2 separate regions of the Homo sapiens genome follow, and region 1 is linked to region 2. Evidence: promoter capture Hi-C in human tissues and cell types (Jung and others, 2019). All regions are on one chromosome and are shown on one strand. Each heading gives the region's core, a stretch centred on a gene start or on the middle of the fragment in contact. The rest is flanking DNA. Distances are from core to core; before and after follow the strand shown. Region 1 has its middle 190 kb from the start of RAI14-DT. Region 2 holds the start of TTC23L (tetratricopeptide repeat domain 23 like).

The links. Contacts are between HindIII fragments. The study calls those that stand out against the background at their distance.
Region 1: a fragment that was not itself captured here is called in contact with the fragment with the promoter of TTC23L in region 2 in 1 of the 25 tissues and cell types used here (aorta).

What each region holds. Positions count from the first base shown.
Region 1 is chr5:34,458,664-34,464,768 of GRCh38, forward strand. No RefSeq gene overlaps it. Among named protein-coding and RNA genes, the nearest start is that of RAI14-DT, 190 kb to the right of the region's middle. The HindIII fragment of the contact is 4,380 bases long and covers 1-3,865 here.
Region 2 is chr5:34,835,004-34,841,515 of GRCh38, forward strand. TTC23L (tetratricopeptide repeat domain 23 like) reads left to right here and starts at 4,161. Exons shown (of 11, transcript NM_144725.4): 1 at 4,161-4,256; 2 at 5,662-5,736. The coding sequence starts at 5,669. It overlaps TTC23L-AS1 (TTC23L antisense RNA 1), which reads right to left and starts at 4,329. Exons shown (of 2, transcript NR_183259.1): 1 at 4,180-4,329; 2 at 2,544-4,014. RefSeq lists an enhancer at 4,451-4,560. The HindIII fragment of the contact is 9,286 bases long and covers 1-6,512 here.

The sequences.
Region 1 (6,105 bases), core at 426-2,925, 380 kb before region 2:
CACTAAGTCATATCAGAATTATAGGAGTTTTCCATAATTTTGGAACACATACAAATAACATATGTATACAAATACAGCCCAAAGAAAACCAAATACTATTTCTTATTTGACAATGCTTCCTGTATAATTTTTATACGAAATAAGCCAAATGTGTCACTTTTGGACTTTAGGAATCTAATATCTTAAATGACTAATTAGGTCAGAAAAATACATAATTTATAATTTGATTTTGGAAAGGTTGTCAAATATAAAAGGTTTAAAACACTTGATATCACAAAAGAGGATCACAGTCACAAAGTGATAACTCAATGATTTCAAAAAAGGTGAAACCTTCATTCTTTGAGAGAGGAGACTTAATTTTCCTAAAAATAAGCCCTAATAAAAACAGCACAAAGCCAATTAAATTTGTTTTCCAAAATTTTATAAACAATCTATAAAATTTTAACCTTGACTATAAGATATAACTTCCATAAAACTTTTAACCTTTATTGAGGAGTCCATTAATGTTTCAAGAAAACTTTGTTAATCTGACACAGGGGCCCATATGCTGGTCTTGTATTGCTGTATCTTTGACATTAATGGTTAATTCACAGAAAAACTGAACTTATTTTATTTCTCAAAATTGGTTCTTTAAATCTCACATGACCACCTCTTCCATGATAGTCTCTGGGCCTTGAGGAGTTGAATAGCTTTAATTTCCGGCCCTGTGTCTCAGAAATGCAGTTTATTTTATTGGCATCTTCTACCAGGCCTGATAGTAAGGCTTTAATTGCTGTCAGTGTTTAAGATTTAACAGGACTTGGTGTTGTTTTTAGACCCAGAGTCAAAGCCCTGTAACTCAATGTCACAAGGACTTTAAAAGCACATACAGAAAGATACACAGATGTAACAACCTCAATTTAAAAAAAATTTTAATATCTTTTTTCTAAGCAAACCAAAACTTAATAATAATGACATTAGAATTATTTCAATAAAATGTAAAATCTGTTGGGCCAGTTAGCAAAAGGCAAAAGAAAAGACCTTCTGCAGTGCACAGAATATTATGTTGGAAGAAAACATTTCCTTTAGCCTTTAAGAAAACGTTATTAGCATCAGGCCACAATGAACAGAGCTTTAGGGGGGAAAAAATCTTATATGAGCTGAAAATGAGTTGAAGGAAAGTGTTATTATTTCATGCCTTTTAAAGAGGGGAGAGAAAACTGAAAAGAGTGAGATGCAATAAAAATTGAACTTTGGGTTAAAAAAATTAAAATCTATTATAATTTATTAAGAGTAAATCAGTCCCTTAAGAAGATTTCATTGCTCTAACCAATTCTTTAGTGTATAAGCGTTTTTTTATATTAAACCCAGTCTCCAGAAGGACCATTATAATTTCTCTTTAATAATAGACAACTTGATCACATAAAAGTCTGTTTTAGTAAATCCTCTTATTGTGACTTACGCAGACCATTCATGACATGTTTGGACTTTCTGGTTCGTCCTGAACATTTCTCTTTCTTAAAAAACCAGACATTTTATTCTAGGACTAAATTTACCATACAAGATTCTTTCTCATATAAAATTATTTCTCTTTAAGCTTTCTTACTCAAAAATGTCTCTTTATTTCTATAACTTGCTTTACATCTCTCTTATTTCCTGGTTCTTTTTACCTTGTTTTATATATAACCTTTAAATAAGCTTTAAATTAGACAAAATTGTTCACGTTTTTAAAAAGGACACTTTTTTAGAAAAAAGGTTTTCCTACAATATATTTTTATTGGAAAATACCCAAATAATGAAATATTTATTATTTAATTTACTATAACTTTAGATTCTAAATTATGAAGAGCTCATCTACAAGTATTTATTCTATTACATTTACCTAATTATTTTATTTTAATCACTTACCTAGATTAAGAAATCTGTGACAGTCATCATTTAAAGTTATGAAACTCACCATTGCAAAGTTATAACTGAGACCATGAGAAAGATATGACCTAAATGTCTCCATCTTGCTTCTAACTTCCAAGCTGTCCTTGCTCATTCCTGGGCATAAGCCCAACTAACTTTGGGAGGAATTTAGTTTGTAGTTTAGCTTTGAAACAAAAATAACACTCCCTTCCCAAAACAAACCTCCTTACTGCCTGTGGACTAGGCTGCCTAAAGCCATAAGACTAGAAGTTACAGTAATTTTACTAAATAATTCAAGATGTAGCTATTTTTATTAAACCAATCAATGTCTTACTCGCTAAATTTTATGCAAGTAAAGATCATTCTCTTTTGGACTTGGTTTATAGTTTTGTAACCCCCGTGCCTATTGCGGGATCTGGCTAGCAACAAAGGGGCTCTTTCTTTGTTCCCAGGTGGATCGGGAGGTCAAGAAATAAAAGACACACACAAGTTAGTGAAAGCTGAGTCCAGGGGGTCACCACTGAGATGCCGCCAATGCACTGGATATACCAGCATTTATTATTAAGTTTAGTGAGGGTGGGGGTAGGTTAGTGAGGGATTTAAGGTCATTTGATTATGAGGTGAGGTGGTCACATAGGGATGAAGTAATTCTTTAACATAACATCAGTATGCAGAAGCACAGTATGCAGAGCTAAGAATTTACAATATAGTGTGTGCATCAGCAATTTCTAACAGAGCCTTAAAACGGAAACACAGTCTATCCATAACCTATGTTTAGTAAGATACTAATCAGTAGTAATAATTGCAGCAAAAGCTGGTTGCAAACAATCAATAGAAGTAGGATGTGAAACTAGACAACTGGTTAGACCACAGATTCTCAGAAGGGAGTATGTCTCAACCCTAAAGAGACCTAGAAGAGCCATGGAAAGATGGGGTGTTTATAGCCCTATCTTATCCATATGAACAGGCACCCCTCATGCATCCGTTTATAGGCTCTCCACAAGGGTCACATTCCATTCCCAGAGATATGAACATCTGCTTTTCTGGGATAGGAATCTTGGTGATGTGAAACCTCCCTGACTGCATGTCCATTTATAGGCTCTCTGCAGGGGGAAGCACATCACATGCTGTTGGCTTATTTTGGCAGCCCAACCTGGCATTGTCTTTATACAATCCTCCATGCAATTTTGTATTTACAATAATCAGGAGCATTTCATCTTTTATTCCATAGCGATAGTTTCATGGGGTCTCCCTACATCTCCCCCTTTTCTCTGATTTAAATGAACCATAGCAATCATAGCTTGGCACTGATCACAATTGGATTGAAGAATATTTTTTCCAATTTTACACATGAACAATAAACCAATAGCACAAATTATACACAGAACAAAATTAATGATAGTGGATCCTCCCAAAGAGTTTACCCATTGAATGGGGTTGAGATTAAATAACCCCTCAAAGATACTGTCTAAAACTTCAGCACTGGGTAAAGCAGTTAAGTGTGCTTGAGATGACTCAAAAATCTGTTCTTTTAGCTTGCTTACGTCTAAACTTAAATTATCTTCACTTCCTTGTAAATGGCGTTTTACTGATTCCCAATTGTGAACAGACTCATTATATTGGAACGGAGTTATACAAAAATCAGAAGTATTCCAATCACATTGCATTTGTAATCTATGTTCTAAACTCATAATTCTATCTCCCATCCATATAACAGTTTGTCTTAGATCGTTAATTTGATTAGCCAATTTTTGATCAATACCTGAGAATTCCACATCCAAGTAGAATTATTTTGCCATTGATTCACAAAATGAACAGTTTGAATAGATTGATGTAATGCAACTCCAGCAGTAGCAGCATTTGCAGTAACAGCAATCAAGCCCACTATTACTGCAATTAATGTAAAAATAAATTGTTTACTCCTTTTAAGAATTTTTTGTAGAATATTGTTAATAACATGGATAGAAGGGGAAGATTCCCAAGGCCTATGTAAAGCTATGGGGAGCCAAATATCTTCTCTGGCTCTGACTATTAAAATACTATGATAATTGATTAAAGGATGAGTCAATACAAGTATACAACTAACAACACAGGTAATTATGTTGGTTTTTGGACTAATATGCATCTTTCCTACTAATAACATATGTGGTGGTTTAACACAACTTTTAAGTGGTATAGTTTTGTTAGACTCCATGTAGATAGTATATATATTTTGGGATGGTACTCTTTTTTGTGAATGTGGAGTGGGGGGAATAGGTTGTATGGCAGGTGGTGGGGGGACATTAGCAACAGGGGGGTATAAGTCCTCATAATCTTTACTGTCCCATCTTTGAATTGACCTTCTGATGATTGCCATAGTGATATTTTTGGCTATGTGGGAATAGTAATGTGAATCAATCTGTTGTCTTAGTTTTTGAGGTGACAAGGTGGATTTACTTATAACACTTTCCCCAGCCCAAACTCTCATACCAGTCATAGCTATGGTTAATCTCCATAATTCTGAATGTTCAGATCCTAAGTGGGGAACGATGAGCCTTGGCTTTGGAGAGGCAACCCCTGCCCCTTTCCACTTAAAAGGAAAAAAGGAGTTAAATCTATGATATACTAGGGGAGAGTTGTCACTACTTTCTTGATAAGTAATATCATAGAGAAAATGTTGACAATCTCTGTGACCTTGAGAGCAATCATTAGTAATATGACTTTTAGAAGCCCAACCAACAATGGTGTAGAGAGAAAAATTAAATAACACAGTTCTTTCTGTACTAACACAATCCTTCCATATTAATTTGTCAGTATTTGAAGAGAAGTTCAGAGGACATGCAGGTCCTAAAGGCTTATTTTGGGATGTGTGAATATAGTCAGCGATTCCTATTTTGATCTGCCTTAGAGGTTTTAATGACAGTCCTGATACCAAGTGTCCCAAAGGAGGGACAGAGTGACCAGATGGTAGTGTGTCCACCCATGTTTGAATATCTAATGAGAGACATCCATTAGTGAGTCCTAGGCACAAAGGTGGATACCTAAAACCTAAAGTAATATTGAAAGGGGTTCCTTCTTCTGAAGATAGGGCAGGACAACGATCATCTACAGAACCAGGCATCCAAATACTATCATTAACATAGACCTCGATAGGAGCATCCATCCATGTCATGGCTTGAATAAGAGGAGGAAAAGCAGGCCAGGCGTGTGGCTCACCCCTGCAATCCCAGCACTTTGGGAGGCTGAGGTGGGCAGATCACGAGGTCAGGAGATCGAGACCATCCTGGCTAACAAGGTGAAACCCCATCTCTACTAAAAATACAAAAATTAGCCGGGCGTGGTGCTGGGCACCTGTAGTCCCAGCTAATTGGGAGGCTGAGGCAGGAGAATGGCATGAACCCGGGAGGCGGAGCTTGCAGTGAACCGAGATTGAGCCACTGCACTCCAGCCTGGGCAACAGAGCAAGACTCCGTCTCAAAAACAAAAAAAAAAAAAAAAAAAGAGGAGGAAAAGGAATATAGGCTCAATATGTATAGTTTTTAACAGTTTGTGGAGTCACAGAGGGTGGAAGGATCAGTGTCATTAGGAGGAGGCAGAGGTTGAGCCAGACCTGGATCACTGGAGATGAGTTGTTCAGGATGGCTGACTGGATTGTCTGTTGTAAAGGAGTTAGTGGGGTTATTTTTTTTTCTTTGATGACTGGATGTGTTAGTTGTTTCCTGCTGTGGTGTTTTCTCAGTAAATTTCTCTGTCTCGTTGTCGCATGCATCTTCAGGACACAATTTCAGGTGTCTAGTAGGAATCCAAACAGGAGACTGATGTTCACCTGGGGAAACACAAGCATAGCCTCTTCCCCACGTTAAAATAGAAACTTTCAACCATATATTAGATTGAACATCTTTCCACCATACTTCCTGTCCTTGGTTTACCATAGGGTGGTTACCAGAGGAATGTGTTTTGGCAGCAATAACAGAACTAGATTTAGGAATATTAAGAAAATTTAACGTGAGCAATGCCAAGTTTAGTTGTATGTGAGGCGTAGACAACTCCTTATCCCCCTCTTTTTGTTTACGTATTGTAATTTTAAAGTTCTGTTACTTCCTTCTATAATAGCTTGACCTTGTGGGTTATAAAGAATACCAGTAATATGTTTAATATGCCACTGATCAAGAAAATTTTTAAAAGCTTTACTGCTATATGCTGGACCATTGTCTGTTTTGAGCTCACTAGGAATTC
Region 2 (6,512 bases), core at 2,911-5,410:
GCATTTAAGTTACACACTCTAGTAGGCAGAATAAGTCCTCCCAAAGACATCCATGTCCTAATCCTCAGAACCTGTGAATATGTTAGCTGTGAATCTAACCTGTGAATAAGTTACATGACAAGGAGGAATTAAGGTTGCTGATAGAATTAAGCCTGCTAATCTGCTGACCTTTAAATAAGATTATCCAGGTGGGCCCAGTATAACAAGAGGGGTCTTTTAAAAATGGAAAGAAGGGTCAGAGATTTGAAGATGCTGCATTGCTGCTGGCTTTGAAGATGAAGAGAACAAATCAAGGAATGCAGCCAGGCTCTAGAGGCTGGAAAAGGTAAGAAAAAATTTTCTCCTTGAGCTCCCAGAAGGAGCCACCCTTGCAGACAGCTTGTCTTTAGCCCAGTGACACCCATTTCAGACTTTCAACCTCCAGAATTATACAATAATAAAGTTGTGGTTTGTTAAGCCACTGAGTTTGTGGTGACATTACAGCAACAATAGGAAACTGATACACACAGGGAGAATCTCTACTAATGGAGTTCCTAAAGGTCATTTGTAGTTTATGTGTTTTTTTTGTTTTGTTTTTCTTTTTTAACACTGATATATCCCAGGCACTGTGCTGAATGCTAAAGGCTCAATGATAACAACTCCTGCTCACGAGGAGCTCATAGCTGGCCAATCAGGGCCTGCTACCTAGCAGGTATTCTGTATTCACTGAGTGGGTAGATGAATATTTAGACGGATGAATTGCCTATAAGGCCCTCCATGACCTGATGCCCCACCACTTTACTGACACAGTCTTTTGTCTCTTTCCTCCTCATTCTTACTACCCTTGGCTGTTCTTTGACCCCATTAAACTTGTTCCTGCCTCAGGGCTTTTGCACTTGCTGTTAACATCTTAGAATGTTCTTCTCCTAAATATTTGCACAATTTGTTGCACGATTTGAGGTATCTTCTCAATGTCATCTTGTCAGAGAGGCCCTGTTTAACTACACTATGTAAGATGGCACACCCCTCCCGCCATGGCCACATCACCTTCTAAATCCCTTACCTGGTTTTATTTTTCTCCATAACTGTTTATCATGTTTTCTTTTTCTTTTTTCTTTTTTTTTTTTTTTAAGATGGATTCTTGCTCTTGTCACCCAGGCTGGAGTGCAATGGAACAATCTCGGCTCACTGCAACCTCTGCCTCCCACGTTCAAGCAATTCTCCTGCCTCAGCCTCCCAAGTAGCTGAGATTACAGGCACCCGCCACCACACCCAGCTAATTTTTTACTTTTAGTAGAGATGGGGTTTTGCCATGTTGGCCAGGCTGGTCTCGAAATCCTGATCTGGTGATCCACCCGCCTTGGCCTCCCAAAGTGCTGGGATTACAGGCGTGAGCCACTGTGCCCAGCCCACTTTTTCTTAAGGTGACTCTTCTGGCTAAGGGAGTCAGTGAGTCCTGAAATCCAGCCCACTCTCTGTTCCCAAAGCTGTACTCCTTAGCAGGGGTCTGAGTCTGGCTGGAGGAAAAGGCTTTTTCCAAATTCATACACTGTCACTGCATACTCCCTAAGCCTTCTGCCTTTTTGTAACTTGCAGAGACACCATACTGTTTACTAGCAGCTCTGTTTTTCTTCATCTAGTAGAATATAAATTCCTGGAAAGCAAAATCATTATCTTATTTGTTCACTTTTGCTTTCCTACTGCTTAGAACATTATCTGGCACATAGTAGGTATTCCACAAATATTTTTGTCTGGGTGGATGGATAGATGTATGGAGATTGGAGAAACTTGCAAATAAACAGAAGTGCCAGTACAATGTGAGAGTCATGATGAGATTGTGGACAGGGTACTGCGAGGGCTCAGAAGCAAGGCATCTAACCCTCTCTTGAGAGGCCATAAAAATGTGTTCCAAGCGAAAGTTTATTTGGATTTCCTTGCCTTAAATTTCACAGTTCCTGGGATAAGAATAGCTTGGAGATAATCACATTTGATTTGGGGTTGTTAGAGCCTAGAAAAACCCCCCATACTGCTTCCTCTATGCAATTTCTGCAATAGCAATGCTTGCCACCTCTACCTCCGGATCAGGGGAGGGAATGTGAATACACACGGTGGAAACGCACTATCCACTTAGATTAGTGGGATGCCATTCTAGAGTTAGTGAACAAACCTAAAAGTGTATATACTACAACTAAAGCTTACATTTGGGGGACAGGGTTAACATGACAAGGAAAGAAATACCAAAAAACTTCAAGAGTCCTCAAAGTTCTGGCTGGACGGTGGCTCACACCTGTAATCCCGGCACTTTGGGAGGCTGAGGCAGGCAGATCACCTGAGGTCAGGAGTTCGAGACTAGCCTGGCCAACACAGTGAAACCCTGTCTCTACTAAAAATACAAAAACTAGACAGACAGTAGTGGCACACATCTGTAATCCCAGCTACTCGGGAGGCTGAGGCAGCAGAATTGCTTGAACCCGGGAGGCGGAGGTTGCACTGAGCCAAGATCACACCACTGCACTCCAACCTGGGCCACAGAGTGAGACTCTGTCTCAAAAAAAGAAAAAAAATAGTCGCCAAAGTTATTTTATTTTGATTTATAATTTTTACAGATGCAGGCAACATGCTTCCGGTCAGAGCTAATGAAATGGAGGCCGAATTAGAGCGTTGGCTTTAGGAATGGGAATTCAGTGCCTGTTCTGGTTCTTCTCTCCACAATTATCAGCAAAAGCAAAGGTTTAGAAAAGAGACATTACCTTTAATATACTTAGAAACAATCTCACAGCCATTTCCTAGAATGAAAGAACATTAAAACCTTTCAATTTGATGACCAACTTAACAAGGGGTAAAAGAAATAAATGTTGGAGAACAGGAAACAGGTTCTTCCTTTTTACTCCCATACATGTTAAATACTGTTCATAGAGTCACAAAAATCGTTTACCCCTTACAGAAACCTGGAACCAGAAGGCGCTTCAGAAAGCAAGTGGTACAAAAACTTTCACCGTATAGGCAAGAAAATTGGGACCCACTGGCCGTGACTCGGCCCAGGCTACAGAGTCAAAACCAGAACCTTGACATTCTGAAATCAGGTTCATTGCTGTCATCATTGTTCCATGCTGAGAGTTTTCTTAGGAAAAAGAATAAAGTGGGGGAATCTTTCCAAAATTGTGACTATGGAGCTCGAAAGTACAGATTTAAATCTTGAGTTAACAGACCATACAGGTTTTACTTAAGAGATATTCAAGCAAACTCATTTAAATAACTCCTCCAACCTAACTCCAAAAAGGCTTTCTTGGCAGTCTTGGATCAATGGCAATTAAACTTCCAGCCTAGAGCTGGAAATAACAAACACCAAACGTAAACACCATCTTTCACATTCTCAATGTTCTCCTTGTCTCTCTACCTAGTCTGCTCTTTTCTGAAAACAACTGGGACACATTCACTCCAACTTGACTTGCCATAGGCCTAGTCTATGATAGGGTTCATAATAACATCCTTCAACATAGCGTTGCAAGAGCTGGCGCTGTTTCTTTGGGTATGGCCACAATTGCCTCTGCACCTTGTGTGTATTACACACACTGTATTCCATGCCAACGAAAGGGTAAGATATGGCTGCATTATTTAGGGCTAAGTGCTAAATAAATAATGAACAGCTAACCATTAGCAGATCTAGTAGTCGATTTCTTACCCTACTCTCTTCCTGCAATCAGCTTTCCTAACCATGCCTAGCTCCAATCTTACTGGGTAACACAGACGGTGCCAGCACAGTCAACAGCCATATCTAAGCCTTTCCTCTGGGGTCCATAAAAACAAAACTCCCGAGGAGCTGTGGGGGTGCACCGTGGCCAGGATCGTCGCCGAATACAGCCCGCACACGTCGCAGCTTTAAATAAGTAGGGCCGTGGGGCCCGGCGCTCCCTTCCATCCTTGGACGGAATGTATCTTCTCTTCCTACGCCTTCACCTCCGAGGGGTAAGGTCTCGTGAGATACAATATGCAGAGGCCAGTTTTGGGGCGAGCCGGAGGCCGGGCGCGTCTAACCTGCGGGGAAGGGAAAGCGGAGGGTAAGGCAAGGGCTGCTGTAGGCGCCAGACAACAGGGACTCTCCGAACCGGAAGTGCCCCGCGTCGCCATGGCTACAGGCGCTCCCAGCAGAACCCGTAGCGTTCCGTTCCCATGGCAACGGTATTGTCTCCTTGGCCGGACCTGGGCTGCGGAAGGTAACTGGGGACGTCGCAGGCTGTGCAGCTTTCGCGAGGCACCGCTTTGGCGCCCGGACCGAGGTGCGCCAGGGTCAGGAGGCCGACGCAGCGGGAGGAAGCCGCGCCGTCGGGCTCAGGGAGCTGGGAGGCTGGTTCCGGGGCGTGGTTTCTCCGCCTTGAGCCAGGTGCCCTTTGCGCACTCGCGCGTTCTCTTAGAGCCTCCGCGGCAGAGAGGCTCTCAGAGCTCGACCTGCGGCGTCAGGGCTTACAGACTTGCCGCAGAACCACAGCGGGAAAAGAGGAGCGATTCGTCCTTGAGGGGCTCAGGGCCGTGCGGAACGTCATAGGAACAGAGTCCGGGAGTTTGAGAGATCAGAACTCTTTGCTGTGGGCATAGTGTTTAAAGTGGAGGTTAAAAAGAGAAATTAGTGACTCTCCCTTTCTGATTTTCGGATAATGGATGCTCTGGAGCCTGGGTCAGAAAGCCACTCAGGGCTCGGTGGGAATTAGTGATTCTGGAGGGTGAAAGGAGAGGCGACTTGGTGGATGTTAACATTCAATAAGTAACTGCGTTCGATTTGGGTTTGATTTAAGCGACTGGCATAGCCTTCCTTGAGAGTTGAATTTCACAAATACTGTATTTAGAAATCACATTTTTCGTTTTGTGCTTCCGAGGTTTCTCCTATCATCTAACAGCAACAACTAAAACAGACACATGAATTTCATTTTATTGTTTTATTTTATTTTGAGACGGAGTCTCGCTCTGTCGCCCAGGCTGGAGTGCAGTGGCGCGATCTCCGCCTCCCGGGTTCAAGCGATTCTCCTGCCTCAGCCTCCCGAGTAGCTGGAACTACAGGCGTGCACCACCACAGCCGACTATATTTTGTATTTTTAGTAGAGACGGGGTTTCACCCTGTTGGCCAGGCTGGTCTCGAACTCCTGAACTCGGGTGATCCACCCGCCTCGGCTTCCCACAGTGCTGGGATTACAGGCGTGAGCCTCTGTACCCGCCTCGTGACCCCTGTACTAGAATCTGCTATTAATTAGTGAAATGACCCCGGGGGGGGGGGGGAAAGCAGAATTAACCAATACACTGGCTGTGCTTCGTTTACCACTGAGAGTTGGTTGCTTTGCTTAAATCCAACACGCCGTCAGACCTGCAAAAACAATATCTGAGTTAAGTAGGTGACCATAGTTTTGATGACCCAGGAACTGTAAATGTGCTTGCTTTGAGACATAAAGGCCAGGGATTTTGGAGAAGTAGGGTGGAGTTGAAATTAGGGGAAAGAAATTTAACTTAGACATTTAATTTGGCAAATGTCTGTTTTCCAGCGGTCTCCATATCTAAGTATGCGTAGTCTGTGGATTTAGGATGGGTTATATATTTGAGCAGTTTTAGTTTAATGTTAATAGCAAACCAGAGGGGGAAAATAGAACAGACACCCAGCCTTTTCTCTCAAAGCTGACCTTACCTGATTCTTGGTAGGAAGAAGATGCAAGCCAGCCCCATCCGTATCCCAACTGTTAGCAATGACATCGACTGGGATTTCTGCTTCCATATGTAAGTATCACAGCATTTTGACATCACAGGTACTTACTGGGCTGAAACACTGGGACCTCCTGCTTAAGGCAAACCTGGGTGAGGAGCTTTGCATGAGAAGCGTTCACGACCAGCCTGACCAACATGGTGAAACCCCGTCTCTACTAAAAATACAAAAATTAGCTGCGCGGTAGTGGCACGCGACTGTAATCCCAGCTACTCGGGAGGCTGAGGCAGGAGAATAGCTGAACCCGGAGGCAGAGGTTGTGGTGGGCTGAGATTCCATCACTGCACTCCAGTCTGGGCAATAGAGACCCTGTCTCAAAAAAAAATAAAATAAAATAAAAAAGAAGGTTGTGTTTCTGATGTGCTTTAATAATGATTCTGCTATAATATCTGTTTGTATTTACAACCTATGCATGATAGAAGATTGCTTTTTCCCGACTTAAGGAAATTTTAAAAGTTTTTAAAATAAAAATAGGTTAGTTATAACAAGATTGGCAAAATTGTAGAGAGTTAGCTATAACAAAGTTAATGAGAAAATTTTTATGAAATAGAGTAAATAAAACTTTCGTATCGTCTAATACTTATTGAGCACATACTATGTGCCAGGCTCTGTTCTAAGTACCTTAAACGTCTTAGCTGATTTAATCCCCCCAAGCCCTGTGAAGGAGTTACTGTTATTGGTACATTTTATAGATGAGTATGAATCAAAGAGATGTTAGGGAGTTTGCCCAAAGTTGCAAAGCTAGTAAATGGTATTTAAACTGGGCATTCTGACTCTAGAATCCATTCTT